4 separate regions of the Homo sapiens genome follow, and regions 1, 2 and 4 are each linked to region 3. Evidence: promoter capture Hi-C in 16 types of primary human blood cells and fetal thymus (Javierre and others, 2016). All regions are on one chromosome and are shown on one strand. The core of a region is centred on a gene start or on the middle of the fragment in contact, and the rest is flanking DNA. Distances in the headings are between cores, read along the strand shown. Region 1 overlaps CCDC15 (coiled-coil domain containing 15). Region 2 holds the start of TBRG1 (transforming growth factor beta regulator 1). Region 3 holds the start of RPUSD4 (RNA pseudouridine synthase D4). Region 4 holds the start of TMEM218 (transmembrane protein 218).

Region 1 (5,394 bases), core at 260-2,759, 1.3 Mb before region 3:
GGGCTCAAATAACTGGACATGTCTGAGACACCTTGACTATTTTCCGGCTATTGGCTGGAGCTAGACAATAGTCAAGTTCTCCCAGTAATGTGGCACCTGCTGGGCTGTAATGTCCAAGATGGCTTTCTTATTCACATATCTGACGCTTGGCCTAGGATGACTAGAATGTCTGGGTGCTGGTTAGATATGTTTCTCTTTTCACATGGCTTCTCTGTTTGACTAACTTGGGCTTCCTCACAGCATGGTAATCTCAGGGTAGTCTGAATTTTTATATGGTGCTGACTTCCTTCAGAATGAGCACTCTAAGAACAGAGGTGGAAGTTTCTTTATGACCTGGCTTGTAATCTTGTGGAGTAAAAGAGGAGCAGAGAAAATGGAGGTAAAAGAAAGAGGCCGAATGGCTTAAACTTGTCTGGGGCTTGAGTTAAGCTGGGTCAGTTGTTCAGGCTTCATTACGTATATATCTCTCCGTTGGAATTATTTTACCTAATTGTTCTTTGACACTTGTACACTCCACTAGAGTAGTTTATGGGATAGACATCTTGGAAATTTTAACTTAAATTGAAATTTGAATGCATTTGATTTTGAGAATTTAATGACAGCCTGTAAAATGATCTGAGGTACCCTTCAGAATTAGAAGTTGGAATCACTGAGTTAGAAGGAATAGGTACGAGATATGATGATGATTTTATTTAATTTGAAAATTCCTAGTGAAAGAGAGACATAGTCAAGAGAAAAGCAGTGTAGAGAGGAACATAATTGTTGGAGTCAGAAACTTCTAATTCTGCTACTAGTTAGCTATATTAAAATTACTTAATCTTTCTGAACTCCAGCTTCCTCATCTGTAACATAAGGGATAAGAATACCTACTGCCAAAGGTGGTTTTGAGGATAGAGTGCTACAAAGTAGTTAAAATACTTGTCACCTGATAGATCCATAATAATGATAAGTGCTGTTATGATGATGACTATGATTATTATTCAAAGCACTTAGAGGAGATAAATGCAGATCAAGAACTCAAATGGGATAAAGTGTTCCAGATTGTTCAGAACAAGCTTGTCCAACATGCGGCCATGGGCCACATGTGGCCCAGGATGGCTTTGAATGCGACCCAATGTAAATTAATAAATTTTCTTAATTAACACTATGAGTTTTTTTGTGATTTTTTTTTTTCTCATCAGCTACTAGTGTTAATGTATTTTATGTGACAGTTCTTCCAACATGGCCCAGGGAAGCCAAAATATTGGACACCCCTGGTTTAGAATATGTTTTGGAATTGAGCAATTATATAAATATATATTGACTACCCTTATAGTGAAGGCTCTGTACTAGATGCCGTAGGGGAAATAAAGGAGAATTGAATACATATCCTGTCCTCAAAGAGTTCATAATCTAGTAGGGGAGTCAAGAAGTACTATACTCAGTTAACATTGGTGAAATGAGAGGTGTTATAGCATAAGAGGGCTTAGAGAGAGAGTGTTGTGGAAGGTACTGGGGAGTGGGTATTAAATGGTTGTGAAAACTGAATAGGCCTTTACTAGGTGGAGATGAAAGGAAGGGCATGCCAGGTTAAAAATGGAGCATAATGCCAAATATGAAGACATTTTAACAATAGGACATATTTGGTGAGTGGTAAGTAACCTGGTGTGTCTTGACTATTTACTCCATTTTAGAAAATGTGTAACGTGTTAGGTTTTATTTGGTTCATTAAGATTTAATGAAGACATCGTTAGTTCTAATTCAATAAAAAATTTAAGATTTGATACTCATACATTCCATTTTTTTTTGTACAGAATGGAATTATTTTTTTCAGGATTGTATCCTTATCCTGACTGTTTTGTGTTTAAAACAGCCCTAATGGACAAAACTGCTAACATTTAAGTTCATTTTCTGTCTTTCATCTTTAAAGACATCAGCATATTTAATTGAAGAAGAACTAAAGGAACAGCTAAGAAAAAAACAAGAAGCTTTGAAACATTTTCAGAAACAAGTTAAATACCGAGTAAATCAACAAATTAGGTTGAGAAAAAAGCAACAGCTTCAGAAGTCTTATGAAAGAGTAAGTTCAAAAGTGAGCCTGAGTAAAGATTGAATGGAAAATATGTGTGTTATGAGATAAGCTATTAGGCAGTAACAGAATTGCTTTCCTTTGATTACATGCCTAATATAATCTAATTAACTAGTGAAGACAGTAAATTTTTTTTGTAGAGAAACCATGTTTTATTCCTGTGTTCTGACTCAATTTTTTGCTTTTACCAAGTAGTTAAAAGCAATGTCAGAATTTTGGGTTCAGACTTGAGTTTGAATTTTGGCTTTGCTACTTCTAGCTATTGACTTTTGGCTAATTACTTAACTTCACTGATTGTAGTTTCTTCATCCATAAAATAAGGATATGATACTTCTCTCATAGGATTGTGTGAGAGTTAGATGAGATAACCTAAATTATTAGCACATGGGAGGTGCCTGGTAAATGTTAGTTTCTCTGCCAGCTAAAGCCTCTCCCCTGCCCCCCACCCCAATTTAAAATCTTCTGAACTGCTTTAGAGGCATTATTTGATTGCTCTGGATTGGGGTAGAATGTTACTATCCCCCTTTCTTCTTTCGTGTAGGCACAAAAAGAAGGCTCCATAGCCATGCAGTCTTCAGCAACACACTTAACTTCCAAAAGGACAAGTGTTTTTCCAAACAATTTGAATGTTGCTATTGGAAGTTCTAGGTTACCTCCTTCCCTGATGCCTGGGGATGGAATAGAGGATGAAGAGAATCAGAACGAATTATTCCAACAACAAGCCCAGGCTGTAAGTACCTGTTCTTTTTATTTTATGTCTATGATATTTTCCCTATCCCCTAAACTATAAATATGACATCTAGGGTATGAGGTAGGGATTAAGAGTTATCACACTCAGCTTCACTTTTGATAATCATCCCCCTTTTTTTTTTTTTTTAGCTTTGTAAAGTGGGGAATAGTGGGATAATGCTTTTTAAAAATTTTAAATTTAAATTCATTTGTGTTTGGTAAGATACTCTAAAATTATCTAAAGAAAAGTGCCGCGGAGCCTGCAGTGAGCCGAGATTGCGCCACTGCACTCCAGCCTGGGCGACAGCGAGACTCCGTCTCAAAAAAAAAAAAAAAAAAAAAAAAAAAAAAGAAAAGTGCCAAAGTGCTAGAATTCAAAACCTATTAGAAAGCACTTTAGGTCAAGAACATGGATTTTCCAAGTTATATTGAAATTATATTCTAGGCAAGCTACTATTAGTTTGTAATTTACAGAGAGAAATAATTCTTACCTTCGTTGCAAAGAAGTTCAGTATACATAGGTGGCATTTCATTTATTATTTATCTTTGTCTCATTTTTCTTATTTTTGTTTTTTAATCTGATTATCACAATAAATGAATCTATAGTTGTAGGTTAAAGAATAATACATAGTAAATTCGTAACATATCCAGAGTTTTTGGAAAAATGTAATTTTTATTTAATGACTCATTTTATATACCTAATATTTAAAAATTAACCACTGTGAGTAGATTTCATCCATTCACATTGCTTGACTCTGTCCATTTAGCCCCCACCTTAGTATACCTGAGCTTTTGTCCAGTTGATACAGTCTTCAACTCTGCTTCAGTAATTGTTCTTCATCTTATTTAAAATGTATTACTAGAAATAATGAGAGGAAGAGAGAAAATATGGAAAATTATGAGTATGTGAAAATAAAAGCTGTATTACTGCTTAACATACTTGGTCAAAATTTAATTGTGCTATTAGTATAAATAGGAAAAGTTTAGAAGCACACATTATCATGTTGAACTACTATTAAAATTTTTTTCTTTGTCCACAACTATTTGACTCTTTCTTGTCATTGTTCAGTTTGTAATAATCATTTTTATTTGTTTAGCAAATATTTATTGAGCCAGGCACTGCATAAAGTACAAGGAATAGAACATTGACTTAAGACAGACACAGTCCTTGCTTTCGTGGTGCTTGTAGCTGTTAGTCCCACTGTAGTGAGGATTTTACTTCATCTGTTTAATACAAAAATAGAACTCATCAGTCAGCAGTATTTGCCTATGCTGTTTGTTATGGATTGTAGCGATACTAAGGAAATGTAAAATAGGACCTTCCATGGGTTTATATTTTCAGGTAGAAATACAAAACTAATAGACCACTCATTGTATCAGATAATAATATAGAGAGATTTTCTGTGTTTTGCAATAAAGTTGTGCTATGGGAGTTCAGAAATTTTTAAGGAAACAGTAGGGGAAGAATTCATGGGAGAGATAGACTTGAACTACACATTTTGTATTGGTAAATTCAAGAGAATTTGTTTTTCTTAGAGACGGAGTCTCACTCTGTTGCCCATGCTGTAGTGCAGTGGTGCAGTCCTGGCTCACTGCAACCTCCTCCTCCTGAGTTCAAGAGAATCTCCTGATTCTCCTGCCTCAGCCTCCTGAGTAGCTGGGGTAGGTGCCTGCCACCATGACTGGCTAATTTTTGTATTTTTAGTAGAGATGGGGTTTCACCATGTTGGCCAGGCTGGTATCAAATTCCTGAGCTCAAGGGATCCGCCTGCCTTGGCCTCCCAAAGTGCTGGGATTACAGGTGTGAGCCACCACACCTGGCCGAGATAATTTTTTCTTAAAAACCACCCAAACAAAAAAAAAGCCTAGAATCTCCAATGAGCCAGGTGTATTTGGGAATAAGTAATGGAACCTTTCTAATTGGTAGTTTATAATGGAGAATAACCAAAAATGGGGTTGGATAAGGAGGAGGAAATCAGGTTATGAAAAACCTTAAATGTCACAAGATTTTTTAAAGTTTTTATAATACCCCCACACTTTTTTTTTTAAAAGGACATGAACTACTGAAGAATGCTCAGTGACTTAACTATTTTGAGCCTGTAAACTTTGTCCATATGACTCCATGACAATAGATGCTTTCTGATCTTACCACTTCTGTTGCAGTTTTTATCCACTAGATGTCACCGTGAAACTAGACAATGAGACAGTTCAGGCACGAACTCCCTTAGTTTATCTAGAACTGGTTGGGTAAATGGTACACATAATTCACTTTCTGAATGTTAGTACACGTCTCAGTTTTCTCGTGTTGGTGTTATAGAAACATGTGATCTTGGAGTTGGAAGAGTTTCAAACATTCATCTGACATGTTGAAACATTTATACATGAAAGTATTTGATGTCTGGAATATACTTAAATAATAAAAGAATGAGGTAAAGTAGGGAGTTACGGATGAAGCAAGATTGGCTAGGAGTTGATAGTGCTAAAGTGAGGTATCCATATCTGTCCATGGTGGTTCATTATAGTGTTCTGATTACTTCTGTATATGTTTGAAGTTTTCCATAGGTTTGAATTTATTTATATTTTTAATTAAATGTTAA
Region 2 (5,499 bases), core at 1,873-4,372, 1.6 Mb before region 3:
CCTATTGCTACCTAAAGATCCTACTTCAGCTTAGAACTTTAGTCCGCCTTGCTTGGCAGAAATCCAGTGTAATAAATCATTACTCACTGATCATTCACTGGGTTTATCACATTGCAGTAAGTACTTGGAGAATCAAGATATACTCATATGCCTCAGTTTGGGGGAGAAGCATGGTTATGCTCGGGAAGACAGATTTTCATGGGAACCAAGAATGCCATGTTGAAAACAGATCTGTTACTTTGTCACATGCCTCTCTTAGAGTATGGTTCTAAATGGTCACTACTAACCTTGCCTCCTTCCTTCCACTGCCCAGGGCTCGGAAAGAACGATACTTTGAATTCCCTTTGCTAGAGCGGTACCTGGCATGTAAGCAGCGTTCACATTCGCTAGTGGCTACCTACCTCCTGAGGAACTCCCTCTTGCTCATCTTCACCTCCGCCACTTACCTATACCTTGGTCATTTCCATCTGGATGTCTTCTTCCAGGAAGAATTCAGCTGCTCCATCAAGACAGGGCTGCTAAGTGATGAGACCCATGTCCCCAATCTGATCACATGCAGGCTGACATCACTGTCCATTTTCCAGATTGTTAGCCTCTCCAGTGTAGCAATATACACCATATTGGTTCCAGTGATAATATACAACCTCACACGGCTATGTCGGTGGGACAAACGACTTTTATCTGTCTATGAGATGCTCCCAGCTTTTGATCTCCTCAGCAGAAAGATGCTAGGATGTCCCATCAATGACCTCAATGTGATCCTTCTTTTCCTCCGAGCTAACATCTCTGAGCTCATCTCTTTTAGCTGGCTGAGTGTCTTATGTGTGTTGAAGGATACAACCACCCAGAAGCACAATATTGACACAGTAGTTGATTTTATGACTTTATTGGCTGGCTTAGAACCCTCAAAACCCAAACACCTCACCAACTCGGCATGTGATGAACACCCATAGTTAAGAAACCATGGAGCAAGAAAGCTTGTGGAAAGTCTCTCTCCTTCCTCATAAGACATGCACACTAATACACATACACACCAAAAAATTACACATTTTAAAACTGCTAAGCTTGGATTTAACTGAATCATATATCTTTTATCATGTTATCCTAAAAGTGAGAAGACATAACCAAGACATGGAAATAAATGTGAAAGCTGGAGCCGAAGAGTCAAAGAGCTAAAAAATTAAGTCTAGAACATTCTATGAGGATAGTATAAATAAAAAGAAATACAGTCTAGACATGCTGCAAGGAAAGAAGATTCTAAAGTCCGTTTATGGAGGCAATTCCATATCCTTTCTTGAACGCACATTCAGCTTACCCCAGAGAGCAAGTGAGGCAATCTGGCAAAAGATTAATAAAGATGTAAACCCCTGGAAACCCTTTGGTGTGGCCTGAAATCCTAGGAATTTACCCAGCTTGCTTTGTAGAAGTTATCAACCTTGTCCAAGTCCTCTGTAGCCTCCAAAGTGCTGGGAGATGATGGCTTCAATTTGTAATCTGCTCTTAGGATGTAAGGACATAGTAGAACAAGGCTGGGGCCATGTCTCAGCCGTGAGTGGAGCCTTCAGGTGCCCAGATACACTTTTCACCATCTAAACCAGGAACTCATTTCACCAGGGGCTGGGATTATGGGCTATGGACTTCTTCACAACTGTTAACGGAGCCAGGTATGCTTTTAATACTCCAGAGGATACTATGCCTTCCCTTACAGCTAATCACTGAATAGCAAGCACTTACAAATGGGTAGACAGTAAAGTGCTATTGAACTTCTTTCTCTTCTGATTTATTACCCTATTTTAGCTTCTAACTCCCATTCCTATGCCTGTAGTTAATGGAACTTTGGTCTGACTTCAAAGACCACACTCAGACACAATATCATGCTGTCTGCCATTTTATATTTCTTTTTAGAGCTACACATTATGCATTTCTTTAAAGAATTTTTGCATAGGCCATTTAGACCCTTCTTCGTATAGTTAAGTAGAAAAGTTGTGTTGCTTCTGACAGATTCAGGTAAGTTTACCTAACACAAGCAAAGAGCTGATAGATGGTTTCCTATTGTCACTGGGTCAAAGTCCAACTCTTCAGTTGGTACACAAGACTTTTCATGACCCAAAAAACCCTACTTACTGCTTCAGTCTCTCTTCTTGCTTCTCTCTACACACATCTTTCACACTGATCAACTACTTGCAGTTCCCATACTGAGCCTTTGCATATGCTGTCTCCACCATCCAGCATGCCCCCCTTTGTTCTTCACTGGGCCAACCAACCACTACCTCTCCTTCAGAGTCTGCCCAGATGTATCTCCTTTAAGAAACCTTTCCTATCTCCTCCCTCCTTCCCTGAGTGCTGCCAAATAAAATAAAACCTACCTCTGAAACAAACTTATTATACCATATTAACATTGCCAATTTACTTGTCTGTCTTTCCTTCTTAAATTAAGGTTCTTAAAGGTGGTATCATAATAGGCACTAGGTAAATATTCTTCTAAACAAATAAGGACTGAATGAGTTGCTCAGTGGCATGACCTTTGTGGAGCACACATATCCAGCCTCTGAACAGTCCTATATGGAAAAAGCTTTGGACGCAAAGATATGCTTTTAATGGAATTGACCAAAAAGTCAAAGAACATGGAAATAATTATGCAAAATATAATATAGCCATAACTGGAATATTAACCAGCCACTTAAAATTATGCTTATAAGGAAGCTATACTAACATTTGTGAAACTGAAATGATACAATGGTAAATGAACAAAAAGAAAACTTTATTTTCAGTATTGTCTAACCTATACAAAAATGCATAAAATATTAGACACATATACTAACATGGTAAAAGTAGTTCATTCCAAGTGGTAGCATTATGGATTTTTAAACCTTTCTTGTACTATATTTTCTAAATTTCTAAAGTTCGAATGAAATGTTTTGTAAGTGTAAGGAAATGTGTCCAATGAAGAAGAAACAAAAAATATCTTCATGCAAATCCCACTAAAGTCCATTGGCCAAAACAGCCTGCAAACTAGGACAAAGGATAGCACTTTTCTTCCCCCTAGATGTGATACATGTATATGAAAATAAATAATACAAATAAAGTCAGACCCCAAAGCCCGCAAGGACAAAATACAGCAGAACAGCAAATTTTTTTTTTGAGAGAAAAAACTAGAGAGTTACTGAACTAGTTATTGGCATCGCTGGAAGAAGATGCAAGCAAGCCTTCTGCCATCCAGCCTGGGTCACTTACCAATACCGCACCCTAAAGATTTTTCTATCTTCCCTAATTTTAAATAGACCTTGGTTGTAAAGTTAGAACCATATACATGTACATATTATGTACAGAAATACACTTCTGGTTTCACTAGACAAACATTTACTGAGTGCCTACTTAGTGCTAGTATTAAAACTGCGTGTTAAATCTCTCATCTTCCCTACTAGAAAGAGCCAAGGCCTTTCTTCCTGTTCACTACTGTGTTCCCAGCTCCTGGGAAGATGATAGCATTAGGAGGCCCTGCAAACACATTTCTGTGAGCTGCAGAAAGGAACGAAGCAGGGAAAGAAGCAGAGTCCCAGCACTTGGGCTCACTTTGTCCTACAGTCTGGGAAAGCCTGTCTGCACGAAGCATGAAAAACGTATTAAAACGCAGTGGCCCAGCGGGGGAGCGTGAATGAGAGCTCGCATTGGTAAGCTTCTTGTTAGTTCGTTGGTTCAACTATAGTACCCTTCAGCTAAGCACACGGCCGCCGGCCCTCCCTCCTCTCCTCATCCAGCACTAGCCCCCAGCTGTCTCTTTCCTCCCGGTGCCCACGATCGCACCGCCCAGACCACCCTACTCTCCCTGCCCCGGAAGTTACACACTGCCGACACCGGGACGTAACTTCCGGGAAGGGCTTACTTCCAAGACAGACACGGAAGTGCTGGGAGGCGCCGGGAGCCCGTTCGGTTGCGGGTGTCTCTGGCCCTGCGGTCAGCCCTGGGAACGTCCCGGAGAGCTAGATTCCTAGAGGCCCGATTCCGCTAGCCCGGAACAGACAAAGCCAGCGCTCCCGCCCGCTCCCCGACTTAGGATCCGATGCCGGCAGCGTCCTGGGGCCCCCGTAGCGGGGCTGGACCATGAGCCTGCTGGACGGCCTCGCTTCCTCGCCGCGGGCTCCGCTGCAGTCCAGCAAGGCCAGGATGAAAAAGCTCCCGAAGAAGAGCCAGAATGAGAAGTACCGGCTGAAGTACCTGCGGCTGCGCAAAGCGGCCAAGGCCACGGTGTTTGTGAGTCTGACCCACGTTCAGCCGGTCCCCTCCTGGAGACTCCCTCACAAAATCTTTCCCCAAGCTGTTCCCCCTTCCCAGTGTGACAGTATTAATACAGTGTTGGCTTTTCCGTATACGTTACTACTTGTTAGCCTTGTGTCCTTGGACAAATTACGTAATTTCTCTGTGTCCTCATCTGTAAATGAGCTAGTAACTGTCTTGCAGAATAATGAATATTAAATGAGTAAAGAAAAGTGCTTGGTGCGTAAAAGACATACCAATAAATTTTAGTCATCGTTGTTACTGCAGGACTCTAGGAAATGTGTTTGATTCTCGAGATACAGCCCTGAGAATTAGGCATTATTTGTAAAATGAGAACACTGAAGCCCAGAGAGATGATTTGCCCAAGGGTACTGTGTCAGAGCCCTGACTCCAACTTAGATAAACCTGATTCCGTTTTATGACTTCCAGTACACAGACTATTTTCTGAGCACCTCAAATCCCCATAACTGACCCTTTGCCCAAAGAGGTACATGAAACTGTCAGTAATTTCCCCCCTCTAACCTTTGAGTGTTCCAAGTGTTTCTTCCTTTCTTTTATTGTAGAAGCACTGGATTTATTGAGTGAATAAACTTAATATAGCTTGCCAGCCATAACTTTATATTAGAATAGTTTGGCTTGCCTCAGTGCTTGGAAATAGGGGTGGAGTCCTCAAATGTCCCCCCACATCCAAGTCAACAGTTCATCTCTTCTCTCTACCAAAAGCTTGAACGTCTCTCAGCATTTTTGGAAGCATAAGGAAAGGTTCAGAAATTAGAATACACATTCCAAAAGCACTTATTCAGCACTTGCTATGTGTATTGCTTGCTATTTGCACTGGAGAGAAACAAGAAAAGTAAAACTAAGAGAACTTAGCATCTGATTGACTGTTCCCTTTCTTTTATCCCCTATACGTCAAAGGTACCTAAAGCTTGGAATTTATGTTATTTCAAGGATATTGGTTCCATCAAATACATAATGAAGATTTTGTGAAGAAAAAGCGATGTTGTTTTGAACATTGAGAGTTTGAAGTTCCACCTATGGGGGCATTCAGATTCAGCATTCCCTTCAGGATTGGTGCTTGGGAGATAGATTGAGTCATCATTTACAAAAAAAAAAAAAAAAAAAAGAAAAAAGATAATACTTGAATTCGTATAAGTAGATTGTGAAGTTTAAGAATTTTACACACTAAATTTGATTTTGTTCTGTCCAGTTTTTCTCTATTTG
Region 3 (5,982 bases), core at 44-2,543:
ATGGGCCTTTTCCCTCTTTCACAAATGCATTTTTTAAATCAATCTTTCCTGATTCACTTCAGCTGTCCCTGACAACTACATGCAACATCTGTTGAAAGACATTTGAAGGTCCACTAAATTCCAGTCACTCTGGGGTTGTATGTTACATATACTCCAACATACATACACACACACACACACACACACACACACACCCCCTTTTTTCTTATGTATCATTTTCTCATTCCCAGTTCTGATGGAAGATAACCTTTAGTCTAGAACCACACAGCCTTTGTATATCTCTACAGCGATCCCTGTAGTCTGCACACAGCGTATTCTACGAATTGCTTACTGTCAGATGTTTAGAAAGGGAGGACTGTCTTATTTATTTATTTCTGTGTTCTCGGTGGTTCCTTATATTGGACGGTAGTTTACAAAAGTTTAATTAATTTGAATGCAAGGCTTTAGAGTGCACCACAAGTAACGTCTCAGTTTTCCTCGGTTGTAGCAGAAAGCAGCTGCAGGTTCCTCCACCTTTCCCGCGTGGTCCTTACCATGCACAGGGAGACCGTAGGGCTTATTGATGACCACAAGGTTCTTGTCCTGGTGGAGAATTCCTCGGGTCAGTGCCTTAGCAAGCACGTTGGGGTGGACTCGCTGCAGCTGCCGTGTGAACCGCACTATTTCTTGCACTCTCCGCTGAACAGCGTTTGTGGACACCTAGGGAGAAAGAAGGAGCCGTGGGGAATGCCTGGTGCGGAAGCCGTGGAGAAGACCTTCCATAAAGGTCTGGGTGAGAATCTGAGTAGGGAATGACTATCTTTGCATCAGACCCGCGCCGCCTTCGACTAATTTGAGAGCAGAGATACCCATCTGTCTAACCTGCGTACCGACGCAGTGGTTAGGACTGAGCCTGACAGTAGCCAAAGATCCAGCTCACGGGAAAACACCGTACCCTTACTGACCCCTCCCCTCCGCCTTCTCCCCATTCTCCCACCTTGCGTCCGGGCTATTGACTCACACGCTTTCACTCAGAGGACCCTCCTACCTACTCCCCGTCTGGGAAACCAATGAGCGCACTGCCTCTAGGGAGTTCTGGTCCCTTTGGACTCACCGGCTCCTTCTTTGTGTCTTGTTCCCGTTTCTGGGCTCGGAGCTTCTCCGCTAATCTCTGGGCATTTATGGCCGTAGAGGCAGCGGCAGCGGCACAAAATGGCTTTGAGACGAGAGTGAAGAGACTCCCGCAACCTTGGCCGTTTCCCCGGATCCAGGGGCCCGACGCGCTCCACCTGGGCGCCGCCATCTTACAAGGAAGGGCGGGGCGAGCCAAGACCACGTGGAGAAGGGCGACTACAATGAGGCGGGAGTGGGTGGGCCCTGCAGGTCACGTGGTGCGGGGTGGGGCCTGGGCGAGTCACGTGGGGACGGTGCGCGCTCAGTGCGGCTGCGCCGGCCGGTAGCTGCAGCTGGAGCAGTGGCGTTTGGAGGAGACTCGGTGAGTGTGTAGGGAAGCCGGGCTGGGGCTGGGAAATGCCGGTGCCTCAACGGTTTAACGTTTTCTGCGTCCCCGGGATTTCCGTTCAAGAAGAGCACTGGTCTGAGAAACGTTTCTCCTTTTGGTACACGATCCCACTCAAAAACTCCTCCCCGCCCCCGCGCCCCCTTAGGAGCGATGTCCCATAAACGCTCGCCCCAGAGCCCTCCTAGGCACCGACGCCGTCCCTCTTAGCCACTGAATCTCCGGTGATCCGCCAGTCCCCTGCGGGACGCGTCGGGGACCCTCTTGATCGGATGCCCGGATCTCTGTAGTCTCTCCACCCTTCATCTTCCAACTCCCAGCCTCTTTGTTTCGCGTTGTAACCTGTACCCTTCTCCTAAGGATGACGGCCCCTTCCCTTATCCAGGGCCCCCAGCACCTATTTCCTACTTAGGAAGCACTGTGAGTGTTTTTTCTGCCCTTCCTCAAGAATTCATTTCTTGGGGGTCTCCTCCCTACCTTCCCTACTCCTCCTAAAGAAAAAGCTGAAAGAACGGAGCACAGACCTTCACTTTTCCTGTTTCCTTTATTTTTCCTCTCCATAGTTTGCAACCACACCATACCTCCTCTCACGAGATGCGATGTTGGGATTCCCTTGCCCGAACTGCAGGCGACTCCCTCTGATTTCACTCAGGGGTGGCTGGGAAGATAAACATCTGTTTGGGATGGTAGTGTTAAAAATAACTTGGGATATACCTGCCATTTGTTAAGAGGAAAGCTTATGCTGAGTTCAGAAAGAATGTCCTGAAAACTAATGGATCTGTGACGATAGAAGGAACAATTTTTTAAGACTGCTTGGAATGAAGGCTGCCTGAGGAGTTATTAGAGAATAGGTAGTTGAATTAGATTTGGGTTCTACACCTCCTAAAGGGTTTGGCAGAAGGGAGCCGTACCAACAAGAAACAAAGTTGATCAGGTGGAGCTACTCATAGAAGACTCAAGTTGAAGAGTTTGAACTAGAGGTGATACGTAGTGAGGAGTCTTTGAAGCTTTTCGAGTAGGGCAGAGAGACTCCTTGAAAGTGGAATTCTGGAAATGAATCTGGCAGTTGAATGCAGGACAGATGGGGAAGGAAAGGGTTTGATAGTGGGGAAGGAAAGGGTTTGATAGTAGGAAAACTAGTTACAATCTAGGTGGTCAGTGATGAGGTCTGGTCTTTTCCCCCTACACTGTAACTCCTTTGAGTTTGAATTAATTGAGTTATGCAGGTCAAGGCGTACTCTTGGCAGCTGCTGTTGATCTGTGAGTCCCTGGAAGAATTTTTTTTTTTAATCCACTCACCTGGCACATAGTAAACTCGATATCTGTTAGATGGCTGAAGTGCATCATAAATGTATGCTAGGTGTGTCTGAACATTTTGAATTGTCTTATTTCTGTCAATGTTTGGCCTGAAGAATGAAGGTAGAGGAAGATGTATTTGTAAAGTGGGAAAGAAGCAAGGCTTGTGTACGTTTCTCTTATAAGGCAGGTGTAAATGCAGATCCAGATACAAATGCAAAGATTTCCAAGGGAGATTGGGAAACATCTGTTTCTCCTGTTCCCCACCCACCCCCTGCAAATTTACCAGTAAGACAGAGGTCTATAAAAGTTGAGAAATTCCACCCTAAAAGAATTATTACCTTCCATGCTCCAGACCTAGGTTCTAATTTCACTTGAACATCACATATTACTTAGATACTTGAAGCTCAATTTTCCAAGGACCCTGAAGTTTTGACATCGGGACTTAAATTCATATCATTACATTAATTAAAAACTTGTTTTGGGTACAGGACTTTTATGGTTTTGTGTCGGGGATGGGAGAGGCTGTTTCTACCCTAACCTTATGGCATTCAAGAAACTACACCTGTTCTTGCAGAGTTGGCCTTCTGTGGCGGGAAACAAAATGAAGAACCAACTCAAATGTCATTGCTAGTGACACAGAGCTTATGCTCTAGGGTTTCAGGTTAACTCAAAGCACACACTTAGTGACTTAAGAATAAAAATATTGGTCCCTTTTTTCTGGAGAAGGAACTTTTAGGTTTGTCTTGTTGAAACTTTGTAGAGAAATTTAAAGAATTCAAAGTTTTTGTTTGGTATGACAGTGCAGCTTTAGCCAGTATGGGTACATAAGTTATGACATCCTTAATGTTTCTCCGGTGAGTCTAGGCACTTGGTGATTTAAAGTAGAGTTGTTCTCAGTATAAAGAATTTATGTGGCCGGGCGCGGTGGCCCACGCCTGTAATCCCAGCACTTTGGGAGGCTGAGGCGGGCAGATCACGAGGTCAGGAGATCGAGACCATCCTGGCTAACATGGTGAAACCCCCGTCTCTACTAAAAATACAAAAAAAAAATTAGCCAGGCGCGGTGGCAGGCGCCTGTAATCCCAGCTACTCGGGAGGCTGAGGCGGGAGAATGGCGTGAACCCGGGAGGCGGAGCTTGCAGTGAGCCGAGATCGCATCACTGCACTCCAGTCTGGGCAACACAGCAAGACTCCATCTCAAAAAAAAAAAAAAGAATTTATGCAAATGTCATGTCTTTTTTTTTTTTTTTTTTCCAATTTTCAAAGAGCAATAATCACCCCTCAGATAAACCTCATTGGCTGCAATACTGCCACTGCAAAAAACTCTTTTGTTTCTGTTTTTTTTTTTTGTTTTTTTTTTGTTTTTTTTTTTTTACCTCTATATTGCCTCCTCCCTGTTCCTCATTCAGCTGGTCCTTTTTTAGGCAGTTCACTTTTCCACTTCTGCGCCAATGTCACAGTCCATTTGTTGGGAACTCCTCTTGTCTAAATGTTTTCTTAGAACAAGGAAGGAAATTCTATTAGTGATTTCTTCATTCTTGCAGACTACGGCTCTGTTCAAACATGACTTATTTACATTGATTTTGATATATCATAATATGTGCCCCTAAAGTAACCATATAAAGAAGAACTTGATAGTTTCTTTTTAAAGATATTTCCTAGTCTATTCAGGAACAAAAAGGCTGCATTAGTATTTCGCAAATATAAACAAACAAGGACTAACTAATAAAGGAACTTGCGTTTATCACAAATTTAAGGTTAATTAGTGGTATAAAGTTAAGTTACGCCTCCTCAAACTGTGATTTGCTAGTTGCAGATTAACCAGCGATTCCATTTCCTTGAAGAGCAGGAAGTACTTGGACATTGTTTTATGGTTTTAGAGAGATTAAAGGAGGCAATTAGCAGGAACTCTTGGGAGGTGCCCTGGAAAGTACAGTCATTGGGAGCCAGGAGATGTGGGACTAGTTCCAGTTCAGCCGCTGCGTACTTGAACAAATAATTTGGGCTTCAGTTTTTTGTCATTTGAAAGATTTTTGCAACTCTGTTTCTAGTCTATGAAGATTTTCCACTGATACTGAAATACTTCTCTTTCAGCCCGAATTAGTGGGATTTATTTCAGATTTATCTTGAATACATTTAGCATTGATACTAAGAAACTGGATTCTGCTCTTGTCCCCAGAATTTAACTTTTTGCCACTGAGCTAATGTTTATGTTTGGAGGTTACTTCATTGAGTGGTGTTGGAATATACTTTTAAGATTTCTGGCCAGGCGCGGTGGCTTACGCCTGTAACCCTAGCACTTTGGGAGGCCGAGGTGGGCGGATCACGAGATCAGGAGATGGAGAGCATCCTGGCTAACACGGTGAAACCCTGTCTCTACTAAAAATACAAAAATTAGCTGGGCGTGGTGGCAGGCACCTGTAGTCCCAGCTACTCGGGAGGCTGAGGCAGGAGAGTGGCGTGAACCCAGGAGGCAGAGCTTGCAGTGAGCCAAGATCGCGCCACTGCATTCCAGCCTGGGTGAAAGTATGAGACTCCGTCTCAAAAAAAAAAAAAAAAAAAATGTCCTAAATGGGGGTGGGGTGCATGGCTCACACCTTAATCCCAGCACTTTGGGAGGCCTAGCGGGGAGGATCTTTTGAGCCTAGGAGTTTGAGATCGCCTGGGCAACATAGCAAGACCTCGTCTCTACAGAAAATCACAAAATTAGCTGGGCATGGTGACGCACCTATGGTCCTAACTAACCCTTGAGGCTGAGGTGGGAGGATCATTTGAGCCCGGGAATTCAAGGCTGCAGCTGCAGTGAACCATGATTGCAGTACTGCACTCCAGCCTGGGTGACAGAGACAGACCCATCTCAAAAAAGAAAAAGTAATTTGTGTAATACAGTTTAAAAGTCAAATAGTAATAAAAGATTTGGAATTAAAAAACAGTTTCTCAGGCCAGGTCCAGTGGCTCATACCTGTAATCCCAGCACTTTGGGAGGCTGAGGCAGGTGGATTGCCTGAGGTCAGGAGTTCAAGACCAGCCTGGCCAACATGGTGAAACCCAATCTCTACTAAAAATACTAAAATTAGCTGAGCATGGTGGTGTGTGCCTGTAATCCCAGCTACTTGGGAGGCTGAGGTAGGAGAATCGCTGGAACTGGAGAGATGGAGGTTGCGGTGAGTCGAGGTCGCACCATT
Region 4 (5,523 bases), core at 738-3,237, 1.1 Mb before region 3:
TTTATCAAAGACAAAAAAAAAAAAAAGAGAGAGAGAGGACCTGAATAAAGAAATAAAGCAGACCTGAACAGAGAAATAACCTGTGTTCCCGGATGGGATGGTTCAATTAAAAAAATCTCAATTTTCCTTAACCTATAAATTCAATGCAATCCTAACCAAAGTCTAAAAACAATTTTTTGTGGAACTTGAAAACGGATCCTAAATTCATATGGAAGAGCAAAAACCCAAGAATAGCCAAAACAATTTTGAGAACTAGGATGGCAACTTGCCTTTCTTGTTACCAACTGCCGCAAGACACATTGAAAAACCAAAGTAATTAAAACAGTGTGATAGTGGCACAAAGACACATGGCCCAGTGGTATAAAATCAAGAACCCAGAAACAGATCCATGCATTTGTGAGAACTTCCTACAGCACAGAGTTGGCTTTATGATTCAATGGGTAAAGAACTTCATAGATAGTGTTGGGACAAATGATTCTCCAATAGGAAAAGAATAAAACTAGATCTCTATATGATATACAGAAGTTGATTTTAAATGGAAAGTAATTCGTAATGAAATAGCATATGTTTAAATATACAAATGTTCAGGCTGACTACACTAGAATACATAATGAAGTACAGTAGTCAGATGCTTGCACCTAAACTTAGAATCACCATGAATGCAAAAGCTTCAAATGCAGACTATGCAGGTGTGTTGTTCTGGCAACTCAAATACCACGAGCTGTGCTGCCTTCAGTTATGTGATTTGCTAGAGTGATGAACAACTCTTGTTAAAGTTCCAAACCACAAATAAGTATAATTTTCCTCTGATTTACATTAGAGTTGCATTCCTGGAAATTTTACTATATTAAACTGTGCCAAAAAATACATTATGTTTATACAAAAACCGGAGTTAGGCTCTACACTCAGATAATTATAAATGAGTATCCTGTGGGATACTCAAAATTTGCACAGGATGCAGGACAATTCTTCGTTGTGAGGACTGTCCCATACATTACAGAACATCCAGTATCCGCAGTCCTGATCTGTAAACCCCAGTAGTGCCTCCAATCAAAGAATAACAAAATACATCTTCACAAATTCCAAAACACCCTAAAACGGGCAGCAACATCTTCTTGGGGAACCACTGTTCTAGACACAGTCTTGCATAAAGAGACATGTACAAGGTGTTTATTGCAGCTTTGTTTACAATAGCAAAACATCAGGAAAAAACCTAAATGTCCATCAATCAGGGAACAGATACAATATTATATATTCATAATGAATACTTAAAATGAATGAAATTGATCTATATGTATTGATGTGAATATATCTCAAAAACAATGTTGAGTGACAAAAACAAGTTGCAAAATGGAACCCACAGTATGATACTACTTGTATTTTTAAAATTAAATACAATCTAAACAGTAATATATATTGTTTCTGACGAACGTATATACAGCAAAAGTATAAAAACATGGGCATAAACAATACATGACAATTTCAAAAGACTATTTGCCTCTGCAGAGGGAGGAAGGAAAGGGAATGGGGTTAGGAGTGGAAATAAAAGGGATCTGAACTAAATCTGTGATGTTTTATTTCTTTAAAATAAAAAACTTGAGCTGGTGTGCCAAAATGTTAATATTTATTAATCTGATTGGTGGAACATAGATATTATACTACCCAATGTACTATTTTCTGTTTTTAAATTTTTCGTGATAATTTTTAATTTTTAAAAAGGTAATGGGCAGCAGGATGCATATGAATTGGGTGACCAGTTAGGAAACTATTGCAATTCTCCAGATAAGAGATGATGAGGGTCTGACCTCCAGTCTTAGCTGTGTCAAGGGAGAAGGTGTTAGAAATGACACAAGTTTCTAGCTTAGTTGACTGAGCTGATGGTACTGCTCTTAAGAAAACAACTATTTAAATTTAATTTGTGCTATTCTGGATATTACACAAATAACCCAGAAGACTTGGACCAACTCTAACAGTTAGAATAGAGGGCAAATGGTAGTTGAAGCTGGCTGGCGCCATTAGAAATGTTGCCCTTCAATCCCCCTTAGTAGCTTAAGAGTTCGTGAGACATTGGATTTATATATGGTATGGCTTTAAAGTAATAAGATAAATATTCCCAAGCTCTTTTAAGAATGGAGCTCATAATTTTATAAGCAAACTATACATTTTCTTACTAAGCATAGAAAAGAAGGGCTGGGTATAGTATAGAGTGCTGCTATAGAGGAAGAGAGAACATCTAGTCATTTTTATCTTATTTAAATGTGAGAATAATATCTGTGATAATTTCCCATATTAGAATAGCTAAATTATTGTTATTGAGTACAATACAATAAAATATAAAAACGGGTTCATGCCATCATTAAACCTTCTTTGAGAAGTGATGGCTTGGCCAACCCGATTTCAAGGGTAAGTCCATTTACTTAATATCTGTGGCATTTAAAGCAGGTAGACTGGAGTGAAAAAAAATAATTTAAATTTGAACAGTTCAGCAGCTGACAACAAAAGCAACTACAGGGCTAATGTTTTCCTTCTGTGCTCAATGCTGTGAGGTTTTTCTCTGAGAGAGTTTGTTCAAAACCTTTTAGATGTGTGTGTTCATTTAATGGTTGTTTCTACATACCCTTTCATCCAGCTGTCAGAGAAAATAGGAATAAATGGACTGATCCCTGCACAGGTAACCTAATGGATTAAAAATACGGTACTCATCACCAGGTTGATCATCATGAGCGAGAATACTAACTGCCATTATAAGATGACTTATAAGATGACTTACTATCTAAGACAAATGTGGATTCCTCAGAGGGTAATGTGGCCTAAGTGCTGCTGCTGGAGGGAGATATCTCACCCATCCCCCGATTTTCACACTGACTCAAGCCCTTGAAAGCAACAGAAAACAGTGGGTTACAAGGAGTGAAGTGCTCCTCTGGAAGAGTCCTTTTCACTTTGCTTTATAGCTGTTTTCCAAACCTTCAAAAATAACGGGGGGGGGGGGTTACTTTCACACTTTTATGTTTCTACTTTAAACACTTCACTATCTTTTGAATTTTAAAATATTAGAATAACGCCTCTACCTTTGTAATTAGATAAAATGCAAGCCTGGGGAAAAAATCAGTTGCCAAGCTCCCAAAATGCCACCGATGTAGCATCTGCTCTTAACACGTTGATAGAAAAAGGAGGATCAGTAAACCTAGGTCTCTTCCTTGCATCCCTCTCCTGGACGGTGTTGTGGGTTGGAAGCGCTGCAGAGCCTCGGTCTATCCGCTCTCTGGATCTCACAGCACTGCAGCCTGGGAACACCCCACTTGAACTCTAAGCTTCTCCCCAACCCTGTTGCAGATTCAAACTGGCGACAGGAAAACAATGCCCCCCATGTCTCGTCTTCAGAATGTGCACCTGGCCACCTCCCAGGAGCTAGAGAGGGATTAAGGTCTCGGTCATAAGAGATCTGAATCAGGCACTGACACTTCCTTTTCTTAAGAGCATGAAACAAAACAGTCCTTCCTTCTCTGCCTCCAATTAAGTATTTATTAGCCGGGCCTTGGGTCCAGATCAGCGGTAAGGGTGGTCTGCGAGGTCCGTGCACCGCCGTCCGCCCACGCCTTCTTCCAACCACCTCAGCCCGACCCTCCACTTTTCTCCCTTCCCCGCAGCCGCCCCGCTTTCCTCACCTCTGCCCCCTTCACCTGGATCCACTCTCCCCCAGGCTCTACTCACACCTCAGATTCCGGCGCGTTCCAGCCCACGGGGCTCTGGTTTACTTAGGGCGAATCACAAGTGGGCTTTCATTTAGGTGATTTAAGATTCACTAATCAGCGTTGCTCTTTCAACGGCCAACTTCTTCCTCATTAGCTTACGCCTAGCGCGGCTCCCGGCAACGCCGAGCGCGGTGGGTTGGCTCGTCACCCTTCGTTACGCCCTCCGATTGGTCGGTGCCTGTCAGCCTTTGGACCGACCTCAGTTCGGTTGGGTAGCAGCGGTCCGAGCTGCACTCCCCGCCCCCCCGCCACTCCACTGTCAATCACACCATCTCTCCGTAACTCATTGGGCCATTGGTCAGTCTAGCCTGAGGGCGGGTTGTTGGGCGGAAGAGAGAGACTTCTTCCGGCCTCACTCGCTGTCACCATAGAGATTGCCCATCCAGGCAGCGAAGCAGCAGGGCCAGGCAGCTCAGATCTCGAACTCCAGAGAACTGCACAGTCATCTAGACATCAATGCCTTTTCCGGGGCCTGATGAACATCTCAATCCCCAACCCACTAGCTCGAGTGGGGCGCAAGATGTGGTGGACAAGTCAGCTCAGGCCCGGTCATTAAGTGTCCCCAACAACCCTCCTGGAGGGAACTGAGGACGAAGCACCAGTTGTAATAACGGCACGCTTCATTTATCTTTATCTCGACTTGTTTTATTTGGTATTTAATTCTTCCATTAGCCTTGCGAAACAGACAAAGGCAAAGATCATTCTACCCACGGGACAGACTGGGGAAGAGGCCCAGGGTCCATCAAGTAAACCCTCTGCCGCCAGGCTGCTGGAACTGGAGCTGGCCCACGCTATTGGCAGACTGCTGTTACCTAACTGCCAACTAAAGCTTGCCATGACTTTGCTTTGAGGCTATGGCCTGTTAGACCAAAAGATGCATCAATCAGGACAACCAAAGGAAGTAGGACAGAGGCTGCGTGCTCCACCACTGAATCAAGAAGGGGAAACAAACAATAATCAATACCAAATTGGAGAGCTGCACCGTTTGAACCTTTGACCTTAAACAAAATTTTAAGAAATATCATGAAGCAACCTATTCAATCTTAGAGCACTGAATCTCTGATTTAAGGAATTCTCCTGAATCACAGCTTTATGAACCAAAAAGAAGAAGATGCTTGAATTTCATCAACTGCACGTCTCAAATTTATTCAACTTTCGAGGCTTCATTTACAATCACATAAAGTAACCAATGATTTGTTGTGCGTTTAGCAACTTAACATTACTTGGCCCAGTGAGAAGCTCTGTGGCTAAGAAATCCTTTATTTTGATGAATTCATTTCACTGGAACTGAGTGTTGACTGCAGCTATGTTCTGTTAGGAACTGCGAAGATATACAAGAAATGAGATGTGACTCCCATCTTAATAGCCCGTGGTTTTGTAATGTTAGGTCAACAACACATGAAACAAGTAGGAAACACTTTAAAGCAAGATATAACAATGGGCCAACCCTATTGTACAATTAATTTCTCCAAAATATAATAATACTTCATATTTGCAGAACATTTCGTAGTTTCCAGAGCACTTCTTCCCTTGTATTATTTGGGGGATATTTTGTTATGGCTGGAATTAATGTGTGTGTCTTTATCATAGAGCTAGAACTAATGCTGGGTCCTAGCATATGAGTAGGAACAGGAAAGGTGGAACAGAATCCAGGAGGAGAAAGTAGTTTGAGCAAAGAGGCCAAGGCAAGAATGAGCACTGAGTATCTGGAGAATAATATGGAGACAAATGATGGAAAGTAATGTGTAGACAAGCTGGTCAGAACTGGCTC

The links. The method cuts DNA at HindIII sites, captures the fragments that hold promoters and counts their contacts. A CHiCAGO score of 5 or more calls a contact.
Region 1: a contact is called between a fragment that was not itself captured here and the fragment with the promoter of RPUSD4 in region 3, in 1 of 17 cell types (total B cells). The highest score is 6.8, in total B cells.
Region 2: a contact is called between a fragment that was not itself captured here and the fragment with the promoter of RPUSD4 in region 3, in 1 of 17 cell types (total CD4 T cells). The highest score is 6.7, in total CD4 T cells.
Region 4: a contact is called between a fragment that was not itself captured here and the fragment with the promoter of RPUSD4 in region 3, in 4 of 17 cell types (activated CD4 T cells, neutrophils, fetal thymus and 1 more). The highest score is 7.4, in activated CD4 T cells.

What each region holds. Positions count from the first base shown.
Region 1 is chr11:124,957,206-124,962,599 of GRCh38, forward strand. CCDC15 (coiled-coil domain containing 15) reads left to right here. Exons shown (of 16, transcript NM_025004.3): 3 at 1,910-2,059; 4 at 2,610-2,798. Among named protein-coding and RNA genes, the nearest start is that of CCDC15, 5.7 kb to the left of the region's middle. The HindIII fragment of the contact is 912 bases long and covers 1,054-1,965 here.
Region 2 is chr11:124,618,983-124,624,481 of GRCh38, forward strand. It overlaps TBRG1 (transforming growth factor beta regulator 1), which reads left to right and starts at 3,882. Exons shown (of 9, transcript NM_032811.3): 1 at 3,882-4,251. The coding sequence starts at 4,102. LOC124902779 (a long non-coding RNA gene) reads right to left here and starts at 4,219. Exons shown (of 2, transcript XR_007062932.1): 1 at 1-4,219. PANX3 (pannexin 3) reads left to right here. Exons shown (of 4, transcript NM_052959.3): 4 at 314-1,374. The coding sequence ends at 953. RefSeq lists an enhancer at 3,959-4,028. The HindIII fragment of the contact is 1,104 bases long and covers 2,571-3,674 here.
Region 3 is chr11:126,210,357-126,216,338 of GRCh38, forward strand. It overlaps RPUSD4 (RNA pseudouridine synthase D4), which reads right to left and starts at 1,294. Exons shown (of 7, transcript NM_032795.3): 1 at 1,094-1,294; 2 at 534-699. The coding sequence starts at 1,282. It overlaps FAM118B (family with sequence similarity 118 member B), which reads left to right and starts at 1,426. Exons shown (of 9, transcript NM_024556.4): 1 at 1,426-1,474. It also overlaps the pseudogene RNU4-86P. RefSeq lists an enhancer at 1,079-1,308. The HindIII fragment of the contact is 5,382 bases long and covers 1-2,232 here.
Region 4 is chr11:125,107,874-125,113,396 of GRCh38, forward strand. TMEM218 (transmembrane protein 218) reads right to left here and starts at 3,753. Exons shown (of 5, transcript NM_001258244.2): 1 at 3,666-3,753. RefSeq lists enhancers at 3,448-3,537, 3,893-4,805, 4,168-4,347 and a silencer at 4,008-4,077. The HindIII fragment of the contact is 2,643 bases long and covers 667-3,309 here.